Linked DNA regions of Homo sapiens: region 1 is linked to region 2. The links are contacts of gene promoters, found by promoter capture Hi-C in human tissues and cell types (Jung and others, 2019). All regions are on one chromosome and are shown on one strand. The core of a region is centred on a gene start or on the middle of the fragment in contact, and the rest is flanking DNA. Distances in the headings are between cores, read along the strand shown.

What was found. Contacts are between HindIII fragments. The study calls those that stand out against the background at their distance.
Region 1: a fragment that was not itself captured here is called in contact with the fragment with the promoter of SYT14 in region 2 in 2 of the 25 tissues and cell types used here (H1 embryonic stem cells and heart right ventricle).

What each region holds. Positions count from the first base shown.
Region 1 is chr1:210,004,784-210,009,864 of GRCh38, reverse strand. All of the region lies in intron 2 of SYT14 (synaptotagmin 14), which reads right to left. Among named protein-coding and RNA genes, the nearest start is that of SYT14, 69 kb to the right of the region's middle. The HindIII fragment of the contact is 3,378 bases long and covers 1,545-4,922 here.
Region 2 is chr1:209,936,378-209,941,491 of GRCh38, reverse strand. It overlaps SYT14 (synaptotagmin 14), which reads right to left and starts at 3,275. Exons shown (of 9, transcript NM_001146262.4): 1 at 3,215-3,275. The coding sequence starts at 3,227. RefSeq lists a silencer at 3,534-3,828. The HindIII fragment of the contact is 7,833 bases long and covers 1-4,760 here.

The DNA of each region.
Region 1 (5,081 bases), core at 1,984-4,483, 68 kb before region 2:
ACCAAAATGAAGGATATGAGAAGAAAGGCATTTGGATTAGAGCATGGGAGGAAAGAGGAAAGTAGAAGGAGAATGACAGATAATTAATTTAGTTTTTGACATGCTACACTGGAAATGCCAACAGAATATTTCACAGAGGGAAATATGAGTATGATGTTCTGGTAAAGGTCAGGTTAGTTAACAAAATTTGAAAATTTTTCCCTCTTTTTTGCTCCTCTTATTCCATATGAAACACTTCACTCACTAAATAATACCAAGCTGGCAAATGCAGGTGCCAGGCTTTATTAATGGTAAATATCTTATGTTACATATCTTTAGATAAATACATACTAAAGCTTCAGACAAATTAAAAAAAAAAGCAGCTTTCCCCACTAGGAAAAGGTGAAATATGCCTGCTGTAAACATACTGTTCACACAATACCCTGACTGAATGCCTGTTTTTCACATTCATTAAAAATATTTTATCTATTTATAATTTTAAAACAGTAGTATGGTTGTAGAGAAGAAATAAAATATCTTCTAATAAAAATACTAAAAATCTTCAGGCTTATTTTTCATCCTTATCTGAGAACTAAACTAATATTTATTATTTCAAATACATTATGATACCAGAAGTCAGCCAGTAACAGTTCTGAGTATAAAAACATTTGGTAAATCCCACCTGTACATAAAACTGCAATAGGATATACACTGAAATTAAACTAAAGATATGAATACTGTACAACATGCTTGTCCAACTCATGGCCTGCCAGACATATGCAGCTCAGGATGGCTTTGAATGCAGCCCAACACAAATTTGTAAACTTTGTTAAAATCTTATGAGTTATTTTTTACAATTTGTTTTTAGCTCATCAGCTATTGTTAGGGTATTTTATGTGTGGCCCAAGACCATTCTTCTTCCCATGTGGCCCAGGGAAGCCAAAAGATTGGACACCCCTGCTGTACACCATCAATTAAAAAATTACACTGATTCATACCTCCCTAATAAAAAATATATTCTTATTCATTATAGGAGTAGAATTTCCCCTAAAATCTTTGTATACTATGAATCTGCTTAGAAAGTCATTCTGCATAAGTATAAGATAATGTAATTTATCTATACCTATACCTTCTTTCAAGCATTCTAGGCCACCCACTGCAGGAAAGTAAATCTATTTAAAACACACATGCCTCTTAAGGAGGATCTTCAAAATCTTCATTTAGGCCAGGTGTGGTGGCTCACGCCTGTAATCCCGGCACTTTGGGAGGCTGAGGCAGGTGGGTCACCTGAGGTCAGAAGTTCAAGACCAGCCTGGCTAACATGGCAAACCCCATTTCTACTAAAATTACAAAAATTAGCCGGGTGTGGTGGCGGGCACCTCTAATCCCAGCTACTCAGGAGGCTGAGGCAGGAGAATTGCCTGAAGCCAGGAGGCAGAGGCTGCAGTGAGCTGAGATCGCGCCACTGCATTCCAGCCTGAGCGAGAGCGAGATTCCATCTCAAAAAGAAAAAAAAAAATTCTATTTAAAAGCACACAGCCAATAATTAGTTTAATATTACACATTTGAAGAATTAAATTTGTTGAATACAGTCAATAACTCAAATTTCACTAATGCAAGTTTTCCCATGATCCAAATTTGCAAAGTTTTAATGTGGTAAACAACAAAACCAAGACCAACTAATAACAACCTGAACAATATCAAACACTTAAAAAGTGCTTATTATTTAACAGGGACTGTTTTAAGTCCTTTACAAGCATTATCTTATTTAATCCTCACTGCAACCATATTTTACAGATATAGATACTGAGGTTCACAAAGAGTAAGTAAAACTTTCAAGATCTTAAAATTATTATTCAGTGACACAGTCTGTATTTGAACTTGAGCACACTGACTCCTGAACCCAAACTGTTAACTGCTAATCTCTTAGCTTCCCATTTGCCAGATATTGTTGTAATTGCTTTCATTTTAAAATTTAACACTCAAGACAATTTATGATAAGTACTATAATATTATCTTAGTCTTTAGATTAATAAATTGAAGTCCAGAGAATAATTAAGTTGTCCAAGTTCACAAATCTATGAAGTGGTAGAACCTGGATTTGAATCCAGACATTCTGACTCCAGAATCCATGATCTTAAACACCAAGTAATACTGCTCCTTGTATGCCAACCTGCATATAAAAGATAAGAAAAAGCTATATGACCAAAGTAACATAGCTCACTATATATATTATGTGCAAATATTTTATTTATAGCTCTTATATATGTTAAAAAATAGCAAGCAATTTCAACTTCCTCAAAATAAATACATGAATTTTAAAACTGGAATTCTAATTTTTTTCTATTCAAGTTACTATTCAAAATATTTTAAAATTAATTTTAGAATTAAGTTTAAAAACCAAAATATGTGGTACTTCCTTATATGCCACATTTGAAAAGCTAATAAAACAAATATGAATTTAAAAACTAAAGATACTCTATAGAAAATAGCTTGATATTCATTAGTAGTGCTCAATAAAGAATATTAACTGCTCTCTGTGAGCTATATCGTCCACTATATGAATTCCCTAAAGACCATACTGCAAAGTGAGAAGGGGCACTAGGTACAATATCTCACCAGAAAATGTAGAAAGTTTAGTCTTTCCAAGACTAATGATTATTTGTGTTATGTATACTGAACTGGCTTTGGCAGTTATATCTTTATATTTAGAAATAAATATATGTATTTACAAAAAATAAACTTAAAAAATACCAATTTTTTAAAATTTAAGCTTCAGTAACAGTGGTAAAATTCATTTTAATTTCTACAGATAAGTTGGTCATTGAAAAAAATGAAAAAATTACAGTCTTACTAAAGTCAAAGCAAGAGCAAATACATTTCGACTTTGAAAGTATTGCAGAATTCACTTAAATTCTCCATTATATTTTGTCACAAAAGAACATTTTCTAGCTAAGAAAATGTTTTTCTAAGAAAAATGCTAGGATATACATGAAAATAATTAAATATATGGGGGATATTTATCTACTAAACCAACACATTTTCTATTTTGATTTACTTGGACCACAATAATACTCTAAATAATATTTCTATCAAAACAAATTAATTATAATTTCTAAAATAAATTTTGTAAGACTATTCTATTCATTATATCTTAAATGCAAAATTAAACAAAAAGTACCTATGCTTTATCTAATTATTTTTTTAAAAAGATAAAAAGTAACAACTTACAATTTGCATTATAAGGGATGTATTGCTGATTTGTCCTGCTGGGCATGAAACACTAATCCTCTAACTCCATGTCATGGATACTTTAATAATTCATTTAATAGATGCAATTCTATCTCTTGACCAAAATGTGAACTATCAAAGTCAACTTTCATTGAAAAAGATATACCTGTTTTACATTTAATTAGCTGTAAATATTTTCTCCATATTTTAATCAGAAAAATGCTATAATTTATTTTGCTCTGGGTTTGGACATAGAGAATTATTCATAATTCTAAGAGATAATTTAGGAAAACAGAAGGTTAGTATGTTTCAGTTTCCTTTTATAACATTTCAATTAGTTTACAAATAAAATTTCCCTCAAATTTTCGTATTACATTATAAACAATGCAAAACTGGAAAGAATATATGTAAATTAAAAAAAGAATGTAACAATGCTAGCTGTTAACTCCAGATTTTATAAAAAACAATCATTACAAAGAGCATTTACTGATAGAAGTAACACAATTCACTGGTGAGTAACTTAAAGGGACAATGGAAGAAGGCATAGATGGTAGTGATGTGAAACACTAAGATCTTAGGGAAAAAAAATGCCCTCTAAGAGAAACAGTTACCTACCTGGACAGGTTGATAAAACAGATGCCACCCAATTTGTTTCACAGTTCAAGCCATGAATAGATTGAACCTGTATTCCCTCTAAGTACATGCAATAAATTGAAATTTCATTTGACTATCATAACAAAAAACTCTAAATCAATCTTGAAGAAATTAGAAAAAAAAGAAAACCCAAACTTTTATTAAGTATGGAAAACCAAATATAAAGTGTATTTAAACCATATACTTCTTACTTAATAATACTTAATGTACTTCATATATTTAAACCAAATCTTAATATAAAACTCTATCAATCTCTGGCAGAGACTTTTCTTCAAGGACAGTCTTGATTGAGGCTTTAGAATTATGATTCTAATGAAGTTTTAGACTAAGAAAAACTTATTTTCCTGGCAAATCTCCCTACAGCAAAGCATAGTCATTCTTTTGAACAACGAATTGTCTCAATTTTTTTCATTACCTATTCAATGTGTATGGATTCCTTCACAATTATCTAAATGAGAAACGGCATGGACAATATCTAAGGTCACTGCTTCCTCTCCTTTACTTTTTCAATGATTCTTTCTTTCTTTTCAATAAGATCTTCATGCTGAGCTACTATGAGTAAGATTTTGAATTCAACACCAATTGCAGGGGAATATTCTGGTTAAAGCCAATCTGTGATGTCAACTACAGTTTTAGATAAGCTTATTTCAAGATTTAGTTCAAACCCATCAAAATTCTGATAAATACCAAGCAGTTTCATTCAAATCTCTCAGAGAGACACCATCTTCCTCTCAAATTTTAATATTAGGACACCTGGTTCTCTTCTTGAAATGATCAAAACATTGTTTGCTCACTCTAAAACCATCTTTCCCCTACTAAGCCTGATCCATTTTGAAGAGAAGTAGCTTTTGCTGAAAACATTGAATGGTTCAATAGATTTACTGTGTATGAACACATACATAGGCAATCAAAGCTTCATCTAACCTTACCAGCATATCATGTTTTCTTATCCACTAAATAAATGAGTCCGGCATAGTTCAGTTAGTGATGACAAGAGCTCAACATCAACATCATACTGTGCTCCCACCTGAATATAGCAACTGGAATGTTCTACTCACTTGCATTCTCAATGCATCTAGAATAAAAAATGTGTAGCTCCATTTGCAAAATGATATCATTCTACCTTTTTGTTGATATGATATCTGTATCAGATATAGTAAAAGCAAATATATTTGAAATTTTAAAGAAAAACTACTCTAAAAGCTTTGAGAAAAGAT
Region 2 (5,114 bases), core at 2,026-4,525:
CAACACTAGAAGAATTAATATGCTGGATAGCAATTACATCACTTCATAGGCTAGGCTACAACAATGATTCCCAACCTGGTATTGCCAGATCACTGGGCCAACAGTAAGGATGTGTAACTATTGTCAATATTTCAAAATGCCTTTCAAAAATTGTAACTTTGCCTAATATAGCCTAACTTCTTTACTGCTGACTGGAATTATGTTAGCTCCATGTGGTAACTCTATCATCTTATATTTGTCTCTTTTTTTGATTAATAGTTACACATCTGACTGATAAAAGGAGGAAATGAATGATTACTTAGTAGAAATAATTTTGTGTTATAAAATAGGTTTACACAGAGAAGAAAATGAAAACAATCCTTAGTACTTAAAAGTCTAGACTCAAGGGCTAAAACACTGGGCCATAGCTAATAAGAGTATGCTTAACAGATATAAACGATCTGTTCAGTTCAAAACATTGGTTAGCTAAGCAAGGGAGTAGTCAAGCTAAAAGAGACTGTGGTTTTAGTTGATTACAGCCTCGCTCTGTGCCAACATGAAGCTCCAAAAAAACCTATTCTAATGTTAAGCTATATTAATAGGATTACACATAAGTGAAGGAGTGGTATAACAGTTTTGATGTATGCTATTCAACAGTATAACTGGAATGAAATGGCCCACTACTATATTCCAAATTTTAAAACATACAACTACAGATCATCCAGAGGAGGGAAGTGGATATTTTATCTAGAAAACACTCTAGAGCTGTCTTCAAATGGCAGAAGGGATATCATATATAGAGAGAATAGTGGGCTTTTAATTTATTGCTACAGAAAGCAAAACTAGGATGGGTAGACAGACGTTACTGAATGGCAGATATTCGGCCAAATACAAAGACCTTATGAATATAAGAATTACTGCCAAAAAACAGTGTTAGACCCATCATCATTGAATGTTTTTATACAAAGGAAAGATGATCCATCTCTTAGCATTCACACTACACTGTAATTGCATGTTTAAAATTATCTGTCTCTCCGAATAGAACATGAACTCTTTGAGAGAAGGGTTATAGTCTTACTTATCTTTTTGGCCCCATGGAATCTAGCAATGAACATTGTATACAGCTATTGTACAAAAAAAAAAAAGGTCTACTGAATTAATAGGTGAATGAAGAAACTGAATGTTTTAAGAAACACTTTACTGAAAAGATGAGACGCCCTTTTGGGCCCCTAAATTTTTAAGATGTCCTTAGTACAGAGTCTCATGCAGAACTCATTCTACTTCATAACACAGCCTAGGAAGGGTGTGCATAATGAATCTATTTTACTATGTGATAAGGAGCACAGTTAGGCTAATTCGAACTGCCATCTTTATCTGAAGTGCTAATATTAATTACAGTTTCTTTGCCAAACTAGAAAAGATATAATTCCTGATCTTTGTATTATGAAAACTTAAGCAAATGCTTCAGTATGAAAATATTTATGAGAGTATCTCAAACACAGAAGAATCTCTAGAATGTGAGGATTTAAAAAATCTTATTCTTCAAACATGTTAAGCAGTAGGCAGAGTAAAATGCCATCAGGTGACATGGAAAATGAATCAGTAACACTTAACTGCCAGTAGAAAGAAAGGAAGAACTAAGAAAAAACGGAAAAAACTGAAAAGATTTTAAGAAATTACAAGTTATAGCATCATATCCGAATGGCATCTGCCTGAAGGATTTTCCTCATGCTCTGCCTAAACCTTTCTACTTTCACGTGGTGTGGTAGTGTGGTAGTGTGGTAGAGTTTCACGGCTTCACAAGAAACTCTACCACAAACTAGTTGGGAAAATAAAGTACACAACATAAATCAGTGGGTTTGGTTTCTTGATTTTTAACCTTTGGTAAAAGGACAGTGAGGGAAACAAATGTTGAAAGTACTGCTGCAGATAACAGGAACATCATAGATTATAGGTAGATCTTATTCCCCACCATTTTAACTCAAGCAGACATTTGAAACTGTCTGAATGTGTCTTGCATACAATAGGTACTCCCTCTCTTAAATAAATAAGCTACATGTAAACACACAGCTAACTCTACTTTGGAGTCCACATGATCCGACAAAAAGAAGTCCCCAGAGATGCATACTACCAGTGATTGATCACTTAGAAGGGAAACGCTTTAAAAAGTTTTACTTAGGAACACACTTTCAATGTAGAGAAATAATGATATAGCTATAGGTACCTTGCACAGCTGCACAGATGAATATACACACACAGGGAAAATTTACAAATTACTTTCACTGTTTGAGTTAATCTAAGAGACAGGGCCTGGAAGATGTAATCTTTCACATAAATATCCTAGACGTGTGAAATTAATTCTCACAATCTCTTCCTTAAAAACAAGGCAAAATATAGACACTTGGTCCCAGTTACATGTTTCTGGAACAAGAGAAAAATACACTTTAGTGTCAACTACCTTATCTAGGAACTTAATTTTTATTAAGCTGTTTTTCGAAATATGAGCATTGTGGCACTATAACACTTCATAGACTGGTATTTGCAGGATTCTAAGAATGTGTGCTTGTTGTAAAGACGTTATTTACTTCTTTTCATGGAGAAAAACAGTTTTGAGTGTTGGCGGGGAACAAAACCACTTGAGGAGGAAATTAACCTAACCCCAAATTTCCTGGACCCCCTACAACAGCAAACAGAAGGGGAACGGGCAGAGAGTGTAACCCAGCATCAGCCCGAGCGGGCACAGGGAAGGGTTAGGAATGGGACAAAAAACTGGACTCTCAGTTTGGCAGGAAGGTGGGTATTGCGGAAGGATGGTTTGCCGCGGCCGGGGAAAGAAAAGAAAGGGCAGCCTGAGCCCCCCGTGGCCCCTCGCTCCTCCCAGCCCGTCCCGTGGGGTCTGCAGGGCCTCACCCCGACCTCCACTCCGCGCGGCCGGCAGGAGGCGGCGGCCCGGACGCTGTACCTGCCCGCCAGCCCGCTTTGCCCCGCGTGCGGCCGCCGGGAGGCCGGCAAAACCACGAAGGCCGGGGCGAGCGAGCCAGTCGGGCCCGGCGTCCCAGCGGCGCCGCTCCGCCCACCCGCCTCCCGAGACGCGGCCAGGACCCCCGCGCGTCTTCAGCCGGCTCCAGACCACAGGAGGCGGCCCCGTCAGCGCCTCGGCCTGCCGGCGCACCTCCGAGCCCCCCGCCAGCTGGGTGGTCCCGGTCCTCGCTCCCCGCTGTCAGCCTCCACTTACCTTCAATCGCCATGATGCGCTCGCCATGGACCGCACCAACTGGATGGCGGGGGCAGCAGACGCGAGGGCTGGCGGAGGACGCGCTGAGTCCGCCAGCGAGAGGGGCGGGGCCCGGCCCGGAGTCGCCCGGCTGTGCGGCCGCGAGGGGCGCCGCGGGCGGGGCGAGGGAGGGGCCCCGAGCGCCGCGAGTGCGGGCCGCGGAAGAAATGGAACCTTCCCGGGGCCGCCGCTGGCACGTGACGCCACCCCGCCCCCACCCCAACCTACCCCACCCCACCCCACCGCCCCACCGCGCCTCGCGCCTCGATTCGAAACAGGTGCCCGGCCCGGAGAGCCACGGGCCCGCGCCCGAGACCCGCCCGAAGCGCGCCGAGCTCGTGTGGGGGCCCAAGCCCAAGCTTCCTGGCGCCGGGCGCCCTCCCGTCCGGTACTTGGAGCAAACGGTGTCCATGAAGGAGGCGAGTGGCAAATGATGTGGTCAGGACCATGGACAGGTCTCCTTGGTTGAAAAGGATTCCCACCCACTGACTCTCAGATTTGGTAATAGTAAGTCTGTTTTGGTTTCGTTTGGTTTTATTTTGTTTTGTTTTGCCCGAATCAGCCACATACTCGTCTCAGATCTCCGCTGTGGAGAAACAGCTAGTTGGCAAAAAGCAAAAAGGAGAGAGGAATCCTGAGCACAGCAGTGGTCTCTCTCTCTCTCTCTCTCTCTCTCTCTCACACACACACACACACACACACTCACTTCACCCCTTAGCCTCGCTCTTGATAAGCCTTGCTGCCACACAGAGCTTGGCTTACCTCTTGGAACTCTGAGTTGGAATTTGTCTACACATTGCAAACGCACATTTGAAGCCACACAAAAGTCAGGGTCAGACGGACGTTTTGACAAAGGACCTGGAAAGCATGTCACACGCAGGTTTTTAAAAATTTGTAAACCTGTGACCATTGTGAACAGTCCCAGGCCAACCCTGAGCACAACAACAATTGGCCACTTAGTTTTTACTTAAGATACTTGAACCGCTCAACCATTTACCCAACTCTCAACTTCATTTAGTAATTTGAGAACCTGGACAATCAACGGCATAAACAACATTGAGAAATAGGGAGTTTAGTGATTCTCTCTTGTGGAGGAAATGCTAATTCCTAGAGCAAAATAGCTATATTAGGGACTGAAACAAAGAAGAAAATATTTTACACTTATGTAAGTAAGGTTGGACTGTAAATCTAGAGCAGAAACTGTCTTCCATTGCTTTTATATAACCTCTCCCTCAGTCGCATTTTATGCTCAATAGACATTCATCCTTTACCATTTTCTTTAGTTCAGTGAGTATCTGTGAAGCCGGCACTGTGCTGAAAACTGGCTACAAGCAAGAATTGTTATTGAAGGATCAAAGAAAATACTGTTTTACTCAGGAAACATTAAAATGCCTATACTTTAGGAAAGCTCCATGAGAGAGTTTATGATGGACATCTAGAGGATTCGGGTAAAATGTTTAATGACATTTTCCCCAGGCAGCCTCCCTTAAAACAGTCTTGAACTCCAAGACATTGATCTGAACTTGACACCACAGTTGTAAGTTGTGGTTTCTGGCTAGTTCTGAGTAACCCAATTGTTCAAACTTTTAAAGAATTTCATATTGAAAGCCCGAAAAATGTATTCATCCTTTCCTCACCAATTACATAGTTACTAAGTAAATAACCAGATTATGTGAGTTTCCATAACCTAGATTAACATCGCTACTATTTGTCCAGGAGACTTATTTGTCCAGGAGACTCATGTGGATGAACTGGGGAAGAAGGAAGATAGTTCCTAGAAGGAGGTTGTTGGACAGAAAGAACTTAACTTATGCCTAGTGTTCCATTATTGGAACGCTAAGCACGCGGGAGTTGTTTACAT